4 separate regions of the Homo sapiens genome follow, and regions 2, 3 and 4 are each linked to region 1. Evidence: promoter capture Hi-C in 16 types of primary human blood cells and fetal thymus (Javierre and others, 2016). All regions are on one chromosome and are shown on one strand. The core of a region is centred on a gene start or on the middle of the fragment in contact, and the rest is flanking DNA. Distances in the headings are between cores, read along the strand shown.

Evidence for each region. Contacts are between HindIII fragments. The CHiCAGO score rates a contact against its expected background, and 5 or more counts as called.
Region 2: a contact is called between a fragment that was not itself captured here and the fragment with the promoter of ASH1L-AS1 in region 1, in 2 of 17 cell types (M0 macrophages and erythroblasts). The highest score is 5.2, in M0 macrophages.
Region 3: a contact is called between a fragment that was not itself captured here and the fragment with the promoter of ASH1L-AS1 in region 1, in 1 of 17 cell types (M1 macrophages). The highest score is 6.3, in M1 macrophages.
Region 4: a contact is called between a fragment that was not itself captured here and the fragment with the promoter of ASH1L-AS1 in region 1, in 2 of 17 cell types (M1 macrophages and erythroblasts). The highest score is 5.8, in M1 macrophages.

What each region holds. Positions count from the first base shown.
Region 1 is chr1:155,557,670-155,563,460 of GRCh38, forward strand. It overlaps ASH1L-AS1 (ASH1L antisense RNA 1), which reads left to right and starts at 4,373. Exons shown (of 2, transcript NR_147964.1): 1 at 4,373-4,617; 2 at 5,581-5,791. It overlaps ASH1L (ASH1 like histone lysine methyltransferase), which reads right to left and starts at 5,134. Exons shown (of 28, transcript NM_018489.3): 1 at 4,484-5,134. It also overlaps a transcript of MSTO1 not described here. RefSeq lists silencers at 2,909-3,203, 4,925-5,074, 5,125-5,264 and an enhancer at 5,153-5,720. The HindIII fragment of the contact is 29,470 bases long and covers 1-5,791 here.
Region 2 is chr1:155,373,223-155,378,864 of GRCh38, forward strand. It overlaps ASH1L (ASH1 like histone lysine methyltransferase), which reads right to left. Exons shown (of 28, transcript NM_018489.3): 9 at 5,281-5,326; 10 at 5,059-5,167. Among named protein-coding and RNA genes, the nearest start is that of MIR555, 30 kb to the left of the region's middle. The HindIII fragment of the contact is 8,414 bases long and covers 1-5,642 here.
Region 3 is chr1:155,428,080-155,433,880 of GRCh38, forward strand. All of the region lies in intron 5 of ASH1L (ASH1 like histone lysine methyltransferase), which reads right to left. It also overlaps the pseudogene POU5F1P4. Among named protein-coding and RNA genes, the nearest start is that of MIR555, 85 kb to the left of the region's middle. The HindIII fragment of the contact is 890 bases long and covers 4,099-4,988 here.
Region 4 is chr1:155,409,025-155,414,772 of GRCh38, forward strand. The region is part of intron 6 of ASH1L (ASH1 like histone lysine methyltransferase); the gene reads right to left. Among named protein-coding and RNA genes, the nearest start is that of MIR555, 65 kb to the left of the region's middle. The HindIII fragment of the contact is 1,990 bases long and covers 2,912-4,901 here.

The DNA of each region.
Region 1 (5,791 bases), core at 3,123-5,622:
AAAACGTGAAATATAAGACTATTATTAACTATGATGACAAGCAATAAGAAAATCTAGCCTCTTCATATGAAAAAATATAAATGAAAAAACACTAAAATTAATTTTAAGGAAAATGATAACAGAAACTAGCAGCATACCTCAAAACAAAACAAAAATGAACTAGTTGCATTTCCACCTCTTGCGGCACCCAGGTTTAAAATACTACATGCTGCTGAAAAGGCTGGCCTAAGCAGATCTCACAGCAGATTATAGTGAGGTTGTATACTACCTTTAAAAGACTCAGATCAATACACATTATTCAAATAGCAATACAAAGTTATTTTAAATGGAGACCACCACCACCACAATCTTACACATAGTAAGACTTCTCCACTGTGTGCTTCCACATTGTCTTGGGCAGAAATGAAGGTGGCCAATTCAATATTAATAAAGCATGGAGGAAGACTCAGAATAAAGACTCAAGTGGAATTGCTAATACTATAAAGACACAGTACCTAGCAAGTTATTAAGAAGTGATGTGCAGGTGCGGTGGCTCACACCTGTAATCCCAACACTTTGGGAGGCCGAGGCGGGTGGATCACCAGAGGTCAGGAGTTTGAGACCAGCCTGACCAACATGGCAAAACCCTGTCTTTACTAAAAATACATAAAAAATAGCCGGGCGTGGTGGCACACACCTGTAATCCCAGCTATTGGGGAGGCTGAGGCAGGAGAATCCCTTGAACCCAGGAGGCAGAGGTTGCAGCGAGCTGAGATCGCGCTGTTGCACTCTAGGCTGGACAACAAGAGCGAAACTCTCTCTCAAAAAAAAAAATTTAAAAAGTGATGTGCTGTATTCTATTTCACAATATAACTCAAGAGTAGAACATGAAAATCCTTTTCCTTTTTTTAAAGAGACAGTGTTTCACGCTATTGCCCAGGCTGGAGTGCAGTAGCACCACCATAGCTCACAGCAGCTTCCAACTCCTGGGTCAAGTAATTCCCCTGTCTCAGCCTCCAGAGTAGCTAGGACTGCAGGTGTTCATTCTAATTTTTTAACTTTCTGTAGAAATGGGGTCTTCCTATGTTGGCCAGGCTGGTATCAAACTCCTGGGCACAAGTGATCCTCCTGGCTCAGCCTCCCAAAGCACTGGGATCATAGGGATAACCCACTATGCCAGGCCCTAGGCCCCTTTTTCTTTTCTTTTTTTTTTTTTTTTGAGAGAGTCACTCTGTCGTCCAGGCTGGCGTACAGTGGTGGATCTCGGCTCACTGCAACCTCCACTTCAGGGATTCAAGAGATCCTCCTGCCTCAGCATCCCAACTGGCTGGGACTACCGGCACACACACCATGCCTGGCTAATTTTTGTACTTTTAGTAGAGACGGGGTTTTGCCACGTTGGCCAGGCTGGTCTCAAACTCCTGACCTCTGGTGAGCCACCCTCTTCAGCATCCCAAAGTGATTACAAGTGAGAGCCACCATGCCCAGCGACATCAAAACCTTTTTACATAAACGCACTGTAGAAATATATCCCAAAAGAAGGTAAGAAATATAAATGTTTGCCTTCTTCTCAAACCAATAGTTCCTTTATACAAAAACACCAGATGAGGCCGGGCGCGGTGGCTCACCCCTGTAATCTCAGCACTTTGGGAGGCCGAGGCGGGTGGATCATCTGTCAGGAGTTCCAGACCAGCCTGACCAACATGGAGAAACGCTGTCTCTACTAAAAATACAAAATTAGCAGGGCATGGTGGCACATGCCTGTAATCCCAGCTACTCGGGAGGCTGAGGCAGGAGAGTCACTTGAACCCAGGAGGCAGAGGTTGCAGTGAATTGAGATAGCGCCACTGCACTCCAGCCTGTTAACAAGAGTGAAACTCAGTCTCAAAAAAAAAAAAAAAAAGCACAAGATGATACAAAACATATTTTTTTAAAGTACAAAGCTGCATACAGAGTATAAACACTTTATGCTTATTCAAAGAGTAAGTAGTGGCAAAAATCTCTTTGCAATTGGGTAACAAAATTTCAACTTCTAGGAATGTTTCCCTCTTCCTTGTCCTTTTGAGAGCTGCCACCATCAAACAATTCAGACTCAACTGAATTAGCATCTCTTCAAGCACAGAGACCATATATTATTGATTTTTGTGTCTCCTGCATAGGATTAACTCAGTGTTTGTTATAACTAAGCTAAACTCCAAGACAGGAGCTTCAAATCACCTCAGGCCCAATCCAAAACTGAAAAAAGACAAACCCACTTCTCAGAGTTTAGGAACAAAAAGATACTGACAAAGAACAAAGCCATAGATACTTGTGCTATATTATATTCCCTTATCACCAAATTCAGAGTCCTTTACTAATACTGCAGAAATAAGTTTGCAGATGATAAAAAGAATAAAAAACATGGACCCTAAAGTTCTCCTGTCAACATGTTCAAATACCATAGACTCTTTCATCTTAAACTCATACTAACATCCACACACCCGAACAATGAAAATGAAAGGTTTTCAAATGAGACCTAAATATAAATTGGCTCTATTTTATTACATTTTAAGTTCCTAAAATCATATATATAAATCATGTGATTGTGCTTATGCTCATCTTCTAACTTGAGGGCCCAGTGTCTTTCATCAGATTCTCAAAAGGATAAGTGACCCCAAAAAATTTTAAGAACCACTCATCTAGCCTATCAAGAAACATCCCATTTTTCAGAAGAATACGGTTAAGTGGCTTAGTTTATGCATTCTTTCTTCATATTCATAGAGGGGATTCTTACTATATGAAATGAGTCTTTCAAAGGATTCCTTCAGCCCAGCCAAGAAGTTCCAACATCCACAGGCACATGTATTAACAATTACCAGAACCCAAAAACAGTTCTCTGGTTTTAATTCCACACCGCCTCCCTCAACTTAATACCCACCACTGTCAAAACAACTCCCCTCACGTTGTACCCAGGCTATTTACAGAGACACCTTGATTATCCTCACGCCAAGGCATGGACCATTTATTGAACAGGCAGTCAACAAATATTTGTTGAATGAATGAAAAAGGATCCTTCCTCCCACAGATTTCAAGTTAAGCTGTCAGCACCCATGCAGCTGCTCTGGTACAAGTTAAGCTGTGAAAGCCTTCTCTCCCTCACACATACAACCTCAAGTGTCAGAAATGCTCTGCTTCCTCCATAAATCCAAAATAATATAGTCATGGATATGCATTTCATACAGGTCAGACTCGGCAAGGACAGCTACGTTCCACATACATATCTGACACAATCGGTCTCCCCCAAATACAAGCCAACCAGTCTTATGTGCTCCTATCTTTCCAGCATACTCAGATTTGCCGACAAAGACTTCCTGAGGCACCATGGTATGCTGAATATACTGCTGCAGTAGTAGTGAAAATATGGGAGTTACAGTTCCAACTTTGTCACCAATTTAACATGCGGCCTTGGAGAAGTTCTCTCCTTATGCCTAAATTTCCTATTTTGTAAAATGGAAGAAAGCATCCTACCATTTTCACAGAGATTCAGTATCACAAAAAAACTGAAAGAGCTTTCTTATTGTATTGTAAACTATTACTATAAACCCGCGACAACAAATAAGGCCACCCATTCTTTACAACTTTGTAGTAATGATTCTGTTAAAGATATTTTGGCCCTTCACATTTACACAACTCACTCTAACCAAAGGCACAAACTATTCTTAAGACCACAACTGGCTATGCCAAGTTTCTCCCCTCCCTGACCTCACAGACACATGCTGTACAGAACACTACCATTGCCGCTCTTTCCCAACAAGTAACTAGGGGCTCCCAATCCCTAAAATACACACACATATCAACCTGCAAGGAACCTCCCAACATTTATTCAAGAAATAAGCTAACTTATAAGGGGAACTCCATTACACTTACACAAATAAAGGCAAACTCTTACGGAAACACTTGCCATCCTCACATACACACACCAACACAGCCGCTACACACCAACAGACCATCTGTCTGCTAGACCAAAAACATCTCTTTCCATGTACAAACTAACCAGTGACATTTATTAAACTTACAACACTGAGATCATCCTGTCGTTCCCACATACCGTTCAACGCGGCAGGGACACCACAGACCTTGTCACACAGGTAAAATCCCCTCTCAAGATCGTGTCCTCGACCACTCTTATCCCTTAATTAAACACACACAAACTGGACTATGGGGGAGGCTCCGATCATGCCTACAAACACAAACTAACCTGTCAGGGGCACAGCCGACTCCGCCTCCACTCGCTTACTTCCCAGCCCCCTCCGGGAGTCTGCCTGTCAGGGACACCCCTTCACCCCGCCTGGAGGGACTTCCCGGTAGGCTCAGGATCCCCCTCCCTGCTCTCCCCTCCCCCATCTTCACCACTGCTCTCTCAGAGATCCAGGTCCGGGAGATGACAGTGGCTCCCAGAAAGCCCAGGATTCAATCGCTGAGAGAGTGCTTAGGCCCGAATGCCGGCCCAAATCGTTCTACTCACCGTGTCGGAGGCCGAGGCCGAGGCCGAGAGCGATGAGAGTGCAGGGAAGTGGGGAAGAGGGGGTGGCCGCCAGGCTCCTCCGCTTCCCTGGGTCCACGGCGGATCCCTCCCGCTTGTCAGGAGGCGGCCAGCGGGTAAGCTGACTGGCGGAAATGCGAGAGAGGAGAAGGGAAAGGTGGAAGGCTAAAGGGGGCAAACTGAGGGGAGGCGGGTCCCGCAACCGAGACTGGGATCGTCTCCCCTCCGCAAAGCGAACCCAAAATGGCGGCGGGAGCGGCGGCGGCGGCGGCGGCAGCAGCAGAGTGGCGGCGGTGGCGGCGGCAGCTCCTCCAGAGGGAGGGAGCGAAGGGCGCCTAGCGCCCCCCTCAACCTTCCACTCCTTCCTCCTTGCGTTCTTTCCCACCGTCCCCCGCTCCGCCCGACTCCGTCCGCGTAGCGCGCACGCCCGCCCGCACGCGTACGAGTGTCTACGGGCTCGTCGCTGGCTGCTCCCACCAACCACCACCTTCGGCCGCCCCGCGCGCCAGCCAGCCCGTACGCGCTCACCCACAGGAACCCCCTCGTCCAGTCCCTCACTACCCCTCAGGCCCTGTCAAGCCGGCGCCGGCGCAGGCCCTCACGCGTACCTTCAACGGCGCAAGCCCAAGCCTCCTCCTCCTCCTCCTCCACCTCCTCTTCTCTCCTCCCCCCCCTTCCCCGCCCCCACGGCCACCAACCGCCGCCACGGCCGCCGCCGCCGCCGCCAGCCCCCCCTACCACCCTCCACCCCTCGCGCGTGCGCCTCCCACAATCCCCCCCGCGGGACTGTTCCATTCCTGTCGGCTGCAGGGGCAGGAGAGGAAGGGACGGGCCGAGCGGGTCGGGGCTTGCCGTTTGACTGGAATTGCCAGAATGGCGGACCGAGCCCCACGACAACCTACCTCCCTGGGCTCCTCGCCGCAGCGCTGCGGCTCGCCTCCCTCTGCTCCTCCTCCTCCGCCGGATCGCGGCGAGCGGATCGAGGACTGCCTAGCGCCCCTCTGCCCACCGGTGGTTGGAGGCCGCGGCGGCTGCGCGTTGAGTCGTTTCCTGCCGGTTGACCTGAGCCTACTTCGCAGTAGCAGGACCGCTGCTGTGGAGCTGGTCGCAGGCGGTGTGTGCCGGTCGCCTAGTCAGGAGAACTAGTCCTCGACTCACGGTGAGGGAATGGACCGACACGGGTATTGTACCGCTGAGGGAAAGGAGCGGGACTCCGGACCTCCAGGAGGTAGGGAGTGAGGCCAGTAGGACCGGCGCGCCTCCGGGGGGATTCCTCCCGGGCGTTGAGTT
Region 2 (5,642 bases), core at 1,706-4,205, 190 kb before region 1:
AAAAAAAAAACAAAAAAAAACTGAACATAGAAGACAAAAGAAGTCACACACATCTTGTCACTGCTTTCTTTACTTTTTTTTTGGAGACAGGGTCTCGCTCTGTCACCCAGGTTGAAGTACAGTGGCACAATAATGGCTCGCTGCAGCTCTGACCACCTGGGCTCAAGCAATTCTCCCACCTCAGCTTCCTGGGTAGCTGGGAACACAGGCGCGCACCACCGCATCTGACTACTTAAAAAAAAAATTATTTGTAGAGGTGAGGTCTTGCTGCTATGTTGCTTAGGCTGGTCTCAAATTCCTGGGGGTCATGGGATCCTCCCTCATCGGCCTCCCAAAATGCTAGGGATTACAGCATTTTGTGAGCCAATGCACCTGGCTGTTTTAATGGGAGCTGTTTAGTTTTGGTGTATGGTTTGAAATCTCATCTAGGCTGTTAAGCATTATTTTTTGGTTTGTTTTTTGGATACAGGGTCTCATTCTGGTTGCCCAGGCTGGAGTGCAGTGGCATGATCTTGGCTCACTGCAGCCTCGACCTCCTGGGCTCAGGTGATTTTCTCACCTCAGCCTCCAGAATAGCTGGGACTATAGGCACACGCCACCATGCCCAGTTGATGTTTTGTATTTTTAGTAAAGATGGGGTTTTTCCATGTTGCCCAGGCTGGTCACAAACTCCTGGACTCAAGTGATCCGCCCACCCTGGCCTTCCAAAATGCTGGATTACAGGCGTAAGCCAACATGCCTGGCCTTAAGCATGACTAAAACAAGGAATGATCAAGAAAATAATCGTCAAAATATCATGTTATATTTATAATAATAATTTTAAAGGCCGGGCACGGTGGCTCATGCCTGTAATCCCAGCACTTTGGGGGGCAGAGGCGGGAGGATCACGTGAGGTCAGGAGTTCGAGATCAGCCTGGCCAACACGGCGAAACCTCGTCTCTATTAAAAATACAAAAATTAGCCAGGCGTGGTGGCAACTGTAATCCCAGCTACTTGGGAGGCGGAGGTAGGAGAATCGCTTGAACCTGGGAGGCAGAGGCTGCAGTGAGCCGAGATGGTGCCACTGCACTCCAGCCTGGGTGACAGAGCGAGACTGTCTCAAAAAAAGGAAAAAAAAAAGTGAAAAGTTTTGTAAAGAAAATATATAACAGTTTATACCTTAAAGTACTTTCAGAGTAATCTGACTTACTCTAAACAAAAATACCACCACGATTCTAAAGGGCACACGGCACACAGTGTCAAATCATGTAAATAGGAGCAGAGAAAGTATCGACTGGATTATTCTTCAATTTAAGATAATCAGCTTCAGCTGTAAAGAAGACAGTGCCTTAACATCAAATTCAACCACCTTTACTCTTCCGTTTGCTGACTTCTTTGGTACATGAATATTATTGAATACCCCTCTTGAAATGCCTTCCTTTTTTGGCTTTCCTCATTTTTTATGATACTGGATTTCCCACCTTGCCAATACCAATTCCTGTCTTTTCTGGTAGAAATCCTTTTTTCCTCTACCATATTCCTTTTTCTAGAGAGCTGATCTATAATCATGGCTTCAAATGTAACCTCTAGTTCATAATATTCCACACCTATATTTTCTTCTTTTCTTTTTTTGACACAGGGTCTCACTCTGTCACCCAGCCTGGAGTACAGTGGCGTGATCACAGCTTACTGTAGCCTCAACCTCCAGGCTCAAGCGATCCTCCCACCTCAGCCTCCCAAGTAGCTGGGACTGCAGGCATGCACCACTATGCCTGCTAACTTTTGTATTTTTTGTAGAGGTGGGGTTTTGCCATGTTGCCCAGGCTGGTCTCAAACTCCTGACCTCAAGTGATCTGCCTACCTCAGCCTCCCAAAGTGTTGGGATTACAGACGTGAGCCACTGTGCTTGGCTGGCACCAAGTATTTTCATAATACCTAATAACACATACTATAAACTGCATCCGGATTTAAAAAAACCCTGAAGTATAAATAAAAGAGTGCTCAGATAAGAGAGATTTAAATTTTAAAAGATTTCTTCCAGGGAACAATCATTCAGAGGTTACTGAAAATTTGTAGTTTCTAGAGTTCAAGGCATTGAAATATATTCCCCATTTGTTTTGACAACCAGAATAAGTCCTTAAATTATATAAAACCAAAACATGTTTCTATTTGTTGTGTCTGGAAACCAAACTAAATTTACCAAAATCTGAAATTAGATGCTGTAAACTACAATGTGAGGTCTTTGATTTAGTACAATTTGTCATTATCTTTAGCCAGATAATGCCCTTGAAAAACGAGAGTTGGGCTGGATGCAGTGGCTCACACCTGTAATCCCAGCACTTTGGGAGGCTGAGGCAAGAGGATCACCTGAGGTCAGGAGTTCGAGACCAGCGTGGTCAACATGGCAAAACCCTGTCTCTACTAAAAATACAAAAATTATTAGCCGGGTGCAGTGGCAGGTGCCTGTAAATCCCAGCTACTCGCAAGGATGAAGGATGAGGCAGGAGAATCGCTTGAACCCGGGAGGTGGAGGCTGCAGTGAGCTGAGATTGTGCCATTGCACTCCAGCCTGGGCAACGAGAATGAAACTTCGTCTCAAAAAAAAAAAAGAAAAATGAGACAGTCGCACCCCAGCCAGCTACTAAACGTAGATCTAGGTTGTCCTTCATATAGTGAGATTTAAGGGTTCAGGACCGGCCTCGGCTAAGTATCGAGATCCCGTCTCTACTTTAAAAATAAATAAAATAAATAAATTAGCCAGGCGTGGTGACACGCGTCTTTAGTCTCAGCTACTCAGGAGGCTAACATGGGAGGATTGCTTGAGTCCGGAAGGTAGAAGTTGTAGTGAGCTGTGATGGCGACACTGCACTCCAGCCTGGGCAACAGAGTGATATCCTGTGTCATAAATAAATAAAAATACTGAGCTTGTGGACCACACTGTTTAATAAAAGTGTGCATTTAAAATATTTGTGAGTAAAGAAAATCAGTATGCAAAACACTATGTGAACCTGTATGTACATAAAATGATAAGGTGTGAATTTACAGTGATGCAGGTAAGGTAGAATTTCCCAACTGGCATGCTGAAGCAGGAAGAACTAAAACATTGATTCCCTTCAGACCACATGGACAGCTGACTAGAGATCAAAGAAGCTACTTTTGGCCATGAGAACTATCCAGAACAGGAAATACTGATGTAAAATTCACTGATTCTTTTTTATTTTGCTGCACATGTGCATTGTTACTAAAACAACAAATTCTATATCCACTCCTTTGTCTATTAGACATTTCTATTTTGAAATTTCAGTGCCGTTTAAAATTATATACTCTCTTGGCCAGGTGTGGTGGCTCATGCCTGTAGTCCCAGCTACTCGGGAGGCTGAGGTAGGAGAATCACTTGAACCTGGGAAGTGGAGGTTGCAGTGAGCTGAGATCGTGCCACCGCACTCCAGCCTGGCGACAGAGCGCGACTCTGTCTCAAAAAAATAAATTAAAAAAATACAAAAATTAGCCAGGCATGGTGGGGGGCACCTGTAATCCCAGCTACTTGGGAGGCTGAGGCAGGAGAATCTCTTGAACCCGGGAGGCAGAGGTTGCAGTGAGCCAAGATCGCGCCACTGCACTCCAGCCTGGGTAACAGAGCTAGACTCCATCTCAGAAAAAGAAAAAAAAAAAATTACAGACTCAAATCAAAGTCATAACTCATAATTCTTTTTTTTTGGGGGGGAGATGGAGTTTCCCTCTTGTTGCCCAGGCTGGAGTGCAATGGCAGGACCTTGGCTCACTGCAACCTCTGCCTCCCAGGTTCAAGCAATTTTCCTGCCTCAGCCTCCCACGTAGCTGGGATTATAGGCATGAGCCACCATGCCCGGCTAATTCTGTATTTTTAGTAGAGATGGGGTTTCTCCATGTTGGTCAGGCTGGTCTTGAACTCCCGACCTCAGGTGACCTGCCTGCCTCAGCCTCCCAAAGTGCTTGGATTATAGGCATGAGCCACCATGCCAGCCAAATTCATAATTCTTATCTCCAATTCAGTTAGATTCCACACTTTATTTTCAGAGAGAGAATATATCCCCATATGAAGAGCATATCCCCTATATGCCGATGGTTTATCAACATACTTTTCTTCTAAAATATATTATGCCCTTCCTCTTCACTCTCACTGCCACTGTCCTATTCTGCTTCCTCATTGTGGCAACCATATATTGAGAGCTAGGAAGGTACCTAGGACTGTGCTTAATGTTTTATGAGCTGGGCACAGTATCACATACCTATAGTTCCAGCTACTCAGGAGGTTGAGGTAGGAGGACTACTTGAGCCCAGGAGTTTGAATCCAGCCTGGGCAACACAGTGAGACCCTATCTCTAAAAAAAACAAAACAAAACAAAACAAAAACCCCAAAACAAGAAAGCCAAAACTTCACAAACATTGTTTATCAACAGTCTCATATAATCTCCACAAACCCTCCATAGAGAAGGTAAGGTATTACTTTTATTAGATGCATTAAATAACTTTTCTCAGGTCTCATAAATAGTAAAAGGATTGGCTGGGCGCGGTGGCTCACGCCTGTAATCCCAGCACTTTGGGAGGCCGAGGCTGGTGGATCACGAGGTCAGATTGAGATCATCCTGGCTAATACGGTGAAATCCCATCTCTACTAAAAATACAAAAAAAATTAGCTGGGTGTGGTGGTGGGTGCCTGCAGTGCTGGCTACCAGGGAGGCTGAGGCAGGAGAATGGTGTGAACCCGGGAGGCGGAGCTTGCAGTGAGCCGAGATCGCGCCACTGCACTCCAGCCTGGGCGACAGAGGGAGACTCCGTCTCAAAAAAAAAACAAAACAAAACAAAACAAAAAAAACAAACAAAAAAAAAGTAAAAGGATTTAAACCAACGAAGGCACACACAAGACTCTAAATCTCATTCATTTTCTGTTTCTGTATTCCGCCCACCCATTATGGTTTATATATCTTTGTGCAACTTCTTGAAAAAAATCAAAGAGCCTATTTAACTGTACCCTCCAAAGGAAGTGTTGTATGTATACCTTAAAGCCTATGCTTTAGAGAAATCAAAGCATGACAGTACCTATTGAGGCAGTCATCAACACAGCCCTTCCTGGTGTCATCATCTGGCTTCTTACAGTTACAGGTGGTAGCTTCGTAACCAGAAAGGGGTTTGACATCAACGTAGACATCTTGAAAAGAAAGCAAAGAATAGTTTGTGAACATACAGGATAATTTTTCAAGTGCTAGGCTCAGAAGAACATTAACGTATAGAGGCAGAAAAAATAGCTCCTAAGTTACTCACTTGAACGAATTTTCTTATATAGTGGGACATCTGGCTTTTTGTATAGCTAGAAGAAAAGAAGAAAAATCTTGATATAGCATTTAACTTCAAATGCCAGACGGCAGCATCAATCACTAAAAATACAGGAAATTTTCTATGTGCTCTGCTCATCTGGAAATATTTACAAGACATTTTGGGTTGGATACATTTGAGGGAAACTCTTGGTGTGATCTCTTTTTACTCTGAAATAAAAGGTGAGAGAATAAGATTCAACAGAAGAAGCACTAAATAGTTTATACAAGTGGAATTACATGTTTCTTCAGCATGTTGTTGGATAGACTTAAATGAAAATCACACTGGAGACCAAAGCTATTCATTTGGAC
Region 3 (5,801 bases), core at 3,294-5,793, 130 kb before region 1:
TAAACCTCTTTTCTTTATAAATTACCCAGTCTCAGGTATTTATAGCAATGTGAGAACAAATTAGTATAATGCCTTAAGTCTGGGTGCAGTGGCTCACGCCTGTAATCCCAGCACTTTGGGAGGCCAAGGCAGGTGGATCACCTGAGGTCAGGAGTTCAAGACCAGCCTGACCAACATGGTGAAACCCCGTCTCTACTAAAAGTACAAAAAAATTAGCCGGGTGTGGTGGTGGGCGCCTCTAATCCCAGCTACTCGGGAGACTGAGGGCAGGAGAATTGCTTGAACCCAGGAGATGGAGGTTGCAGTAAGCCGAGATTGTGCCACTGCACTCTAGCTTAGGCGACAACAATGAAATTCCGTCTCAAAAAAAAAAATATATATATATATGTTGGGAACAGGCCCCCCAAAATCTGGCCATAAACTGGCCCCAAAACTGGCCATAAACAAAATCTCTTCAGCACTGTGACATGTTCATGATGGCCATGACACCCACGCTGGAAGGCTGTGGGTTTACCAGAATAAGGGCAAGAAACACCTGGCCCACCCAGGCTGGAAAACCGCTTAAAGGCGTTCTTAAACCACAAACAATAGCATGAGCGATCTGTGCCTTAAGGACATGCTCCTGCTGCAGGTAACTGGCCAAACCCATCCCTTTATTTCGGCCCATCCCTTTGTTTCCCATAAGAGATACTTTTAGTTAATCCCGTTTCCCATAAGGGATACTTTTAGTTAATCTAATATCTATAGAAACAATGCTAATGACTGGCTTGCTGTTAATAAATACGCGGGTAAATCTCTGTTCGGGGCTCTCAGCTCTGAAGGCTGTGAGACCCGATTTCCCACTTCACACCTCTATATTTCTGTGTGTGTGTCTTTAATTCCTCTAGCGCCACTGGGTTAGGGTCTCCCCGACCGAGCTGGTCTCGGCATATATATATATACAATGCTTTAGAGAAATTAGTGTCCATATCCACCAGTGGACATTAGAGGAATATTAAAAGCAGTTTTTTTGGGCAATAACCTCAAGTTGAAAATAATCCAAGAGTAAAATCGAAGAACTGTATTACACACAAACAATGAAACAACACATTAAAACTACAGCAACATGCATTAACATACATAATTTAACATGACTATGTTGAGCAAAAAAAGGTGAGACACAATAGTATATGTCCTCTGTAATTAATTTTGTTTGTTTGTTTTTGCTTTTTTGAGACAGGGTCTCACTCTGTCACCCTGGGTGGATTGCAGTGATGTGATCTTGGCTCACTGCAATCTCTACCTCCTGGGCTCAAGTGATTCTCCCACTTGGCTTCCTGAGTAGCTAGGACTACAGGCGTGTGCTACCACAACTGGCTAACTTTTTGTATTCTTAGTAGAGACGATGTTGCCTAGGCTACTCTCAAACTCCTGGGTTCAAGCGATCCACACGCCTCGGCTTCCAAAATTGCTGAAATTACAGGCATGATATGGCACCCAACCTGTATAATTAGATTTACATGAAATTCAGGAAGAATAAGCTGTATTGTTTAGAGCTGCACACATAAATAGTATTTTAAAAGGTAAATATGTGGTTACCTTAAAAGTCAGAAGATTGGTTATAGCTTCTGGCAAGAAAAGGGGTTTACAAACAGGGAAAGTATGGTCACCTCCTGAATATTTATATGGGTACGACCTCTACAGAAAATTTACTTAGCTTATGTTATGTATTCTCTTGTTTGTCTCTTATTTGTTTTTTAAGACAGGTTCTCGCTTTGTCACCCAGGATGGAATGTGGTGGCACGATTATGGCTCACTGTAGCCTCGACCTCCTGGACAAGCTCAAGCAATCCCTTAACACCTCAGCCTCCCTAGTAGCTGGGACTACAGGCACACATCAGCACGTCCAGCTGATTTTTAAGTTTTTTTTTTTTTGAGACAGAGTCTCACTCTGTCGCCCAGGCTGGAGCGCACTGATGCGATCTCAGCTCACTGCAACCTCCGCCTGCCAGGTTCAAGCAATTCTCCTGCCTCAGCCTCCCGAGTAGCTGGGATTACAGGCATGCGCCACCACACTTGGCTGATTTTTAAGTTTTTTGTAGAGATGGAGTTTCCCTATGTTGCCCAGGGTGGTCTTCAACCCCTGGGCTCCAGCAATACTCCTGCCTCTGCCTCCCAAAATGCTGGGACTACAGGTGTGAGCCACCTCATCTGGCCTGTTTATGTATTCTCTTTAGATGTATCCTCTTCTGTTTGCAGCCCATATTCTCTTTAATGAGATGGGAATAATATTTTTCTTGAAAGTGTGGTAGAAGTTAAAATTGGGTCTGATGCTGTTCTTGGGGCAAGACTTTAAATAATAGATTCAATTTAGGCAATAGGAGTGCTCAGGTAATTTCTTTTGAGTATGTTTTGTTAAAATTGTATTTTTCTAGGAACATGTCCATTTCAACAGTTTTCCCATTTGATGGGCTTAAAGTTCTCACAGTAGTAAATTTTTAATCTCTTATATACACTTTATTTCCTTTTAAATCCCTATTTATTCCCTTTCTCATTCCTATTGATCGGCTTTACCAGAAGTTTGTCTATTTTATTAGTTTTCAAAGAACTTTGGTCTTAAAAGTGACTCTTACTGTTATACATTTGCCTTATTTTATTAACTTAAGGTGTATGTTTTACATTCTTCCAATATCATTTTCAGGCTCATTCACTTGTTCTTTTAATTTCTTATTTTCATAAAATTGTTTTTAGAAATAGGGTTTTGCCATTGCCCAAGCTGGTCTCAAACTCCTGGGTTCAACCAATCCTCCAGCCTCAGCCTCCAGAGTAGCTGAGACTATTGGTGTGGCCAGCAAGCTCTTAACAATTTTTTTCGGTCAGGTGTGGTAGCTCACGCCTGTAATCCCAGCACTTTGGGAGGCCAAGGTGGGCAGACTTGAGGTCAGGAGTTCGAGACCACCCTGGCCTATATGGTGAAACCCTGTCTCTACTAAAAATGCAAAAATTAGCCGGGCATGGTGGCAGGACCTGTAATCCCAGCTACTCCAGAGGCTGAGGCAGGAAAATCGCTAGAACCCAAGAGGTGGAGGTTGCAGTGAGCCAAGCCATTGTACTCCAGCCTGGGCAACAGAGCAAGATGCCGTCTCAACAACAACAAAAATATATATATATATAATATTTACATATAATATACATTATAAGATACATATTTTTAGAGACAAAGTCTTGCTATAATATATATGTATTTTTAGAGGCAAGGTCACACTCTGTCACCAAGGCTGGAGTGCAGTGAAGGAACACAGCTCATTGCAGCCTCAACCTCCTGAGTGCAAGTGATCCTCCCACCTCAGCCTCCCAAGTAGCTAGAACCACAGACACGAGCCACCACGCTCATTTAATTTTTAAATGTTTTGTAGAGATGGACCAGGTGCGGTGCTCACACCTGTAATCTTAGCACTTTGGGAGGTCAAGTTGAGAGGATCGCTTGAGTGCAGGAGTTCAAAACCAGCCTGGGTAACATAGTGAGACCCCATCTCTACAAAAAACACAAAAATTAGCCAGGCCTGGTGGCCCCCGCCTGCAGTCCCAGCCACTGTGGGGGAGGGATGGGGGTGGAGACGCTTGAGCCCGGGAGGTGGAGGTTGCAGTGAACTGAGATTGTGCCACTGTAGTCCAGCCTGGGGGACGCAGCAAGACCCTGTCTAAAATAAACAAACAAACAAACAGTTCTTTGTAGAAACGGTAGCTACAACCAGCCACACTGCTCAGGCTGTCTTGAACTCCTGGCCTCAAGTGATCCTCCTGCCTCAGCCTGACAAACTGCTGGGATTACAGGTGTGAGCCACCACACCTGGCCTGATTTTATTTTTTACAGCAAAAATTTATAAGTGTTTTAAAAATATACCTTTTTCTTTTTAAAACCAGGATTTGAACCTAGGTTTTCCGAGTCTAGAAGCCCACCTCATAACCATTAAATTCTTCCTGTGCATTCTGGTTTTATATTAATCAACAAATAGTGACCAAAATCTTTAATATATCATACAAGGTTCTTGGCACAATCTGATCCCTACAACCTCTATCTGTATCCCATGCTACTCTACTCCATGTTTTGACCACAAAAGCTTTCTTTCGCTTGCCTGAAACTATCATGCTTTTTCAGACTTTTGTGTATGCTCTCTCCTCACTCCTTTAAATAACAGATGAAGCCTATTCTTCACATTTTTAGCATAGTCCTTACTTTTTCTGGGAAACTAAGTTAGTTATTTCTATTATATACAGTACTCTTATAACTCTAAGTAACTCTTCATAATAGCACTTGGATGGTTAAAATCCATGAAGGTAGGAAAAGTTTCTAGATTTATTCACCACTCTATCAATTCTAAGTACATGAAACATAATAATCTTCCAACAAATACTAATTGAAAAAATAAATGAATACATATTATATAACAAGTACTAGTGTAAGCTCCAATTAGAACAAGTTGAAAAACTGTTGCTATCTCTGGGAACTCAGTGTGTCATGTCCTTCCCTACACAATCTCTTGAGGGCAGAAATTTTATCTTTCTCTTTATAATCTCTTCAAATCTCAGAATACAATCTTGTGAAAAAGTATGTGTTTAATTTTGCTGACCATGATACTAGAATTTGCTGGAATAGAAAGGCTAACCTATTCAAAAGCCTTTTTTGTCGTTGTTGAGACGAAGTCTTACTCTGTCATCCAGGTTGGAGTGCAGTGGTACAATCTAGGCTCACTGCAACCTCTGCTTCCCTGGCTCAAGCGATCCCCCCACCTCAGCCTCCCAAGTAGCTGGGACCACAGGCGTGCAACACCACCACGCCCAGCTAATTTATTGTATTTTTTGGTAAAGACGGGGTTTCACCATGTTACCCAGGCTGATGAAAGCCTTTTCTTGAAGCACATTTTAAAGATGACCCTTCCTAACATAAATGGTCAAGATGTCTCAAACTACAGTAAAGGCAGAAATCATCCTCCTTGTCAGTGTTTTAAAGCTTCAATAATTAAACTGCTATGACAGAGATACCAAAATAGACTGATAGAAAGGAATATAAAAATATTTGACATTTCACCAGGCCCCCAGCTTGGGGCGCCTTCCTTCCCCATGGCGGGACACCTGGCTTCGGATGCCTGCCTTCTTGCCCCCTCCAGGCGGTGGAGGTGATGGGCCAGGGGGGCCGGAGCCGGGCTGGGTTGATCCTCGGACCTGGCTAAGCTTCCAAGGCCCTCCTGGAGGGCCAGGAATCGGGCCGGGAGTTGGGTCAGGCTCTGAGGTGTGGGGGATTCCCCCATGCCCCCCGCTGTATGAGTTCTGTGGGGGGATGGCGTACTGTGGGCCTCAGGTTGGAGTGCGGCTAGTGCCCCAAGGCGGCTTGGAGACCTCTCAGCCTGAGGGCGAAGCAGGAGTCAGGGTGGAGAGCAACTCCGATGGCACCTCCCTGGAGCCCTGCACCGTCCCCCCTGGTGCCGTGAAACTGGAGAAGGAGAAGCTGGAGCAAAACCCGCAGGAGTCCCAGAACATCAAAGCTCTGCAGAAAGAACTCGAACAATTTGCCAAGCTCCTGAAGCAGAAGAGGATCACCCTGGGATATACACAGGCCGATGTGGGGCTCACCCTGGGGGTTCTATTTGGGAAGGTGTTCAGCCAAACGACCATCTGCCGCTTTGAGGGTCTGCAGCTTAGCTTCAAGAACATGTGTAAGCTGCGGCCCTTGCTGCAGAAGTGGGTGGAGGAAGCTGACAACAATGAAAATCTTCAGGAGACATGCAAAGCAGAAACCCTCTTGCAGGCTCGAAAGAGAAAGC
Region 4 (5,748 bases), core at 2,657-5,156, 150 kb before region 1:
TTTTCTTTCTTTTTTTTTGAGACGGAGTCTTGCTCTGTCGCCCAGGCTGGAGTTCAGTGGCGCAATCTCAGCTCACTACAACCTCTGCTTCCTGGGTTCAAGCGATTCTCCTGCCTCAGCCTCCCAAATAGCTGGGACTACAGGTTGCATGTCACCAGGCCTGGCTAATTTTTGCATTTTTGGTAGAGATGGGGTTTCACCATGTTGGCCAGGGTGTTCTTGAACTCCTGACCTCAGGTGATCTGCCTCCTACAGTTCTCGGATTACAGGGATGAGCAACCACACCCAGCAAAAATTGTCATTTTTCAACCATCAATGTAATTATTAAACTTAGGGAAAAAACATTAATGGATGATTAAATGTTAGATTAAAAAAGACTGATAGAGAACAAGCCATAGCCTTAAATATCAACCCATGGTTTATGTACCAATTACAATGGGAAAAAATGTAGTATCTTTGCAATGAAAAGACTTGGTGGATACCACCTTCACTAAGTAATCAAAAATGGCACCATCAATGCTGGGACAATAAGTGGGATGCAAAAAGAAGTATAAAGTATCACATATGCAATATTCCTGCCATGATTTTTAAATTTTATTAAGTTTTATTTATTTTTATTTTTGTAGAGACTGGATCTCACTATGTTGCCCAGGCTGGTCTTGAACTCCAGGCCTCAAGTGATCCTCCAGCCTCAGCCTCCCAAAATGTTGAGATTACAGGCATAAGCCATCTTTCCCAGGCCTCTGCCAAGATTTTTTTAAACCTAAATTTAATCATGAAGATAGGATCAAAGAAATCCAAAATGAAGGGCATTCTAAAAGACAACAAAAGCCTGAGTTCTTAAAAAATGGTCGATCTTGGCCAGGCGTGGTGGCTCAGACCTGTAATCCCAGCACTTTGGGAAGCTGGGGCGGGCAGATCACTTGAGGTCAGGAGTTTGAGACCAGCCTGGCCAATATGTGAAACCCCGTCTCTGCTAAAAATACAAAAATTAGCCAGGCGTGGTGGTGGGCACCTGTAATCTCAGCTACTCGGGAGGCTGAGGCAGGAGAATTGCTTGAACTCCATCTCAAAAAAAAAAAAGTTCGTATTATTTTCTCTTTCTTTTTCTGAGACAGGGTTTCAAAAAAAACGCTTTGTCACTTAGGCTGGAATGTAATGTCATGAACACAACTCACTGCAGCCTCGGACCCCTGGACTCAAGTGATCTGCTCACTTCAGTCTCACAAGCAGCTGGGACTACAGCTGTGCGCCACCACACCTGCTGGATTTTTATTTTATTTACTTATTTATTTCTGAGACAGAGTTTTGCTCTGTCACCCAGGCTGGAGTGCAATGGTGCGATCTCGGCTCACTGCAACCTCTGCCTCCGGAGGTCAAAGGATTCTTCTGCCTCAGCCTCCCAAGGAGCTGGGATTACAGGTGCCTGCCACTGCGCCCAGCTAATTTTTGTATTTTTAGCAGAGACAGGGTTGTGTCATGTTGGCCTGACTGGTCTTGAACTCCTGACCTCAAGTAGTCTGCCTGCCTTGCCTTCCAAAGTGGCCTCAAGCAATCCTCCAGCTCCAGCCGCCTAAAGTGCTGGGATTACAGGCGTGAGCAATCGCACCTGGCCTTTATTTTTATTCTGTTGTATGATATTACAACAGTAGATACATGTCAGTATACATTTGTCGAAACCCATAGAATGTATATCACCAAGAATGATATACAGGATTACAGGCCTGAGCCACTGCGTCTGGCCTGAATTCTTAAATTTTTAGTAGAGACAAGGTCTTGCTATGTTGCCCAGGTTGGTCTTGAACTCCTGGGCTCAAGCAATCCTCCAGCTCCAGCGGCCTAAAGTGCTGGGATTACAGGCGTGAGCAATCGCACCTGGCCCCTTTATTTTTATTCTATTGTATGATATTACAATAGTAGATACATGTCAGTATACATTTGTCAAAACCCATAGAATGTATTTCACCAAGAGTGAACCCTAAAGTAACTACGGACTTTGGGTAATAATGGTATATCAATGTAGGTACATGGATCATAACACATGTATCACAATGGTGTGGTGTAACAGTGGGCAGGTTGTGTGTATGAAGAACAGGGTGTATATGAAAACTCTGTACTTTCCACTCAATTTTGCTGTGAAACTGAAACTGCTCTAAACATAAGTTTATTAATGAAACTGCTAACAACAAAATAGCCAGCCCACAATAATATCCTGGCTTCACATCTTTCAAGAATGCATACATGTACTAAACTGATCAATGTTCTTAAAAATGCTTAAAGAATAAACCATTTTCTTCCTACTTATTTTTGGGAGAGGAAGAGCTAGTTCTAACATACATAAAGTGATATTTCAGTCCATTTTCAGGTCAAATCTTTTGTATGACCAGAGACACTTACAAATCACTGATACGGTTGTATAATTTGATGTGAAATCAAATTACATCAAAAGATCAGAATCTTCCATTTTTAAATCTTTAATCAAGAAAAAGCACAAAAGTAAAAAACAGAAGTGTGGTCTTATGATATATATAAATATAAATATGAATATAAATAAATAAATAAATATATATATATATATATATATATATATATATGTTTTCATCCATGGTTCCTGGCTCTTAACTCCCATAGTCCCTGTTATAATGTTGGGGCACTTTAAGTCTCAGGAGTGGGCCTCAGGAGATAGAATCTCTCTTTGACCTTCTCCTGTCTTCCTTTCACCTACCTAAGGCAGGACTCTAATCTGATTCTGGGCCAAGAAAACCCTCACTCCAGAGAGGGTCCTGCCCCATACCCTAGAGAAAGGAATGTGACACAGAGAGGCCAAGAAGTCTAGACAGGACATGCTGGGTTTACATCCTCTACATTTTGTTCAATCACATTTCTACATGGCTGTCATTGACGCCTATGAAGCTTCCATAAAAACTCAAAAAGAGGCCGGGCGCTGTGGCTCACTCCTGTAATCCCAGCACTTTGGGAGGCTGAGGTGGGCGGACTGCCTGAGCTCAGGATTTCGCAACCAGACTGGGCAACATGGTGAAACCCCGTCTCTACTAAAATACAAAAAATTGGCTGGGCATGGCGGTGTGTGCCTGTAGTCCCAGCTACTCAGGAGGCTGAGGTAGGAGAACTGCTTGAACCCAGGAGGTGGAGGTTGCAGTGAGCCAAGATCTTGCCACTGCACCCCAGCTTGGGCAACAGAGCACGACTCCGTCTCAAAAAAAAAAAAAAAAATTTAGCTGGGTGTGGTGACAGGTGCCTGTAATCCCAGCTACTCTGGAGGCTGAGGCAGGAGAATCACTTGAACCTAGGAGGCAGAGCCTGCAGTGAGCCAAGATCATACCATTGCACTCCAGCCTGGTTGACAAGAGCGAAACCCCATCTCAAAAAAACAAACAAAACCACAAAAAACAAAACTCAAAAAGAAAGGTTCAGAGAGTTTCTGGATAGCTGAACATGTGGAGGTTCCTGGAGGGTAGTGCGCCCAAGGAGGGAATGAAAGCTCTATGCTCCTTCCCCAGTATATGTCTTCATCTATAGCGTCTGTAATATCCTTTATAACAAACCAGTAAATGGAAGTACATGTTTCCTTGAGTTTTGTGAGCCATTCTAGCAAATTAATCAAACCCAAAGGGGGGATTGTGGAAACCCCAACTTGAAGCTGGTTGGTCAGAAGTTCTAGAGAGCCAGAGTTGTGACTGGTCTAAAGGGAGGGTGGCGGTCTTGGGAACTGAGCACCCAACCTATAGGATCTGACCCTATATCCAGGAAAACAGTGACAGAATTGAATTGAGGACACCCAGCTGCTGCCTATTGCTTGGTGTATGGGAAAACCCTCATACCTTTGGTTACAGAAGTCTTCTGTGTGTTTTTTTTTTTTTTAATTTTATTGAAAAAAATGGTTTTTTTTAAACCAGCAGTTTGCTCTTACAGACTTCTTTGTTGATGATTATTGTGATGTGACAGCAGAGGAAAAACACAGTCTGAGAGGTTCTCCCTAAGCAAGAAATAAAACTTGAATTTTATTTAGCAGAAAAGTTGATAATTATATTTCTGCTCTATTTAGCAGACTCTGTTCCAAAATTATGACTGAATTAGATGTGTCCCAAAGTGTATTTCTACTTTCTCATTTCTACTGACAGAATGTTGATTTTTTTTTTCCTTAACAGCTATTAACACCTAGAGTAATGACCATTATTTCCGCAACCTGTCTTATGGCTAAAGTGTGGCTATGCAATTTAAATTCTAGCCAATTTATATAAATGCGGGTTTGAAATTTTCTTACAAAGAAGGAGCATGGGCCAGGCATGGTGGCTCACGCCTGTAATCCTAGCACTCTGGGAGGCAGAGGAGGGCGGATCACCTGAGGTCAGGAATTCAAGACCAGTCTGGCCAACATGGTGAAAGCCCATCTCTACTAAAATTACAAACAATTAGCTGGGCACGGTGGTGGGTGCCTGTAATCCCAGCTACTTGGGAGGCTGAGGCAGGAGAATCGCTTGAACCCAGAAGGCAGAGGTTGCAGTGAGCCGAGATCGTGCCATTGCACTCCAGCCTGGGCAACAAGAGTGAAACTCCATCGCAACAAACAAACAAACCAGAAAACAAAAAACAAAGAAGGAGCATGCTTTTCCTCCTCTTTTCTGTCTGTAACAAACATCAAATGGCTGGACTCTAGTAACTATCTTGGAACATGAGGGAATCTTAGGAATGCATAATTAGTGCTGAGATAGAAGGGAGAAAAAGGAGCCTAGGTCCCTGAAGACATTGTGAAGGTACCATTATGAACTTTGAACTACATACTTCACAACTTCTCTTAAATTAAAAAAAATAGTTAAGTGCCTATCTTTTTAAAGTCTTGGTTATTTGAGATGATTTATTATTATAATTAGCTAAACTTAAGCTTCATTAGTAAAATGTTTTCATGACCTAAGAAGCACGTTCAGAGTATAAAAATTTTGTGATATCTACCTCAGTGACAAATCAATAAAAATCTTTTAAATGCAAAATAAAGTGGTATGGTTTACATGTCAATTACTTTAACACCACCAAACGAGATGTACCTCTAAAATCTAAGGTTTCCTCTTTCAATCTTATTCTTCTCTTTGTCTAAATTCAGATATTCATGACTTTTTGACAGAAACTGTGAGGTGAGAGTTTTTGCCACTAGTAATTCATTCCATTTATTTTCCACCCTGCTGCTGGAGTTATCTTAAACAAACCTATACCTTTCACATCCATCCCCCAAACTCATTTTTTATTTCCTATAGCAAAATAGCATTAAAAAAATTTCTTTTTTTTTTGAGATGGAGTTTCGCTCTTGCTGCCCAGGCTGGAGTCAATGGCTCGATCTCGGCTCACTGCAACCTCCGCCTCCCAGGTTCAAGCGATTCTCCTGCCTCAGCCTCCCAAGTAGCTGGGATTACAGGCATGTGCCACCACACTCGGCTAATTTTGTATTTTTAGTAGAAACGGGGTTTCTCCATGTTGGTCAGGCTGGTCTCAAACTCCCAACCTCAGGTGATCCACCCGCCCTGGCCTCCCAAAGTGTTGGGATTATAGGTGTGAGCCACCACTCCCATCCAAAACCAAATATCTTAAAGTTAACTAAATATCTCAAAGTCCATGGTTATATGTTCCTCATCATATAATGCTTATTTACCACAGGGCCACTACATTTCAGAAGCCCTAAACTTTCAAGTTGTTTTGATATATGAAAAATCTTTGTATCCTTTTTACATGCTGTTC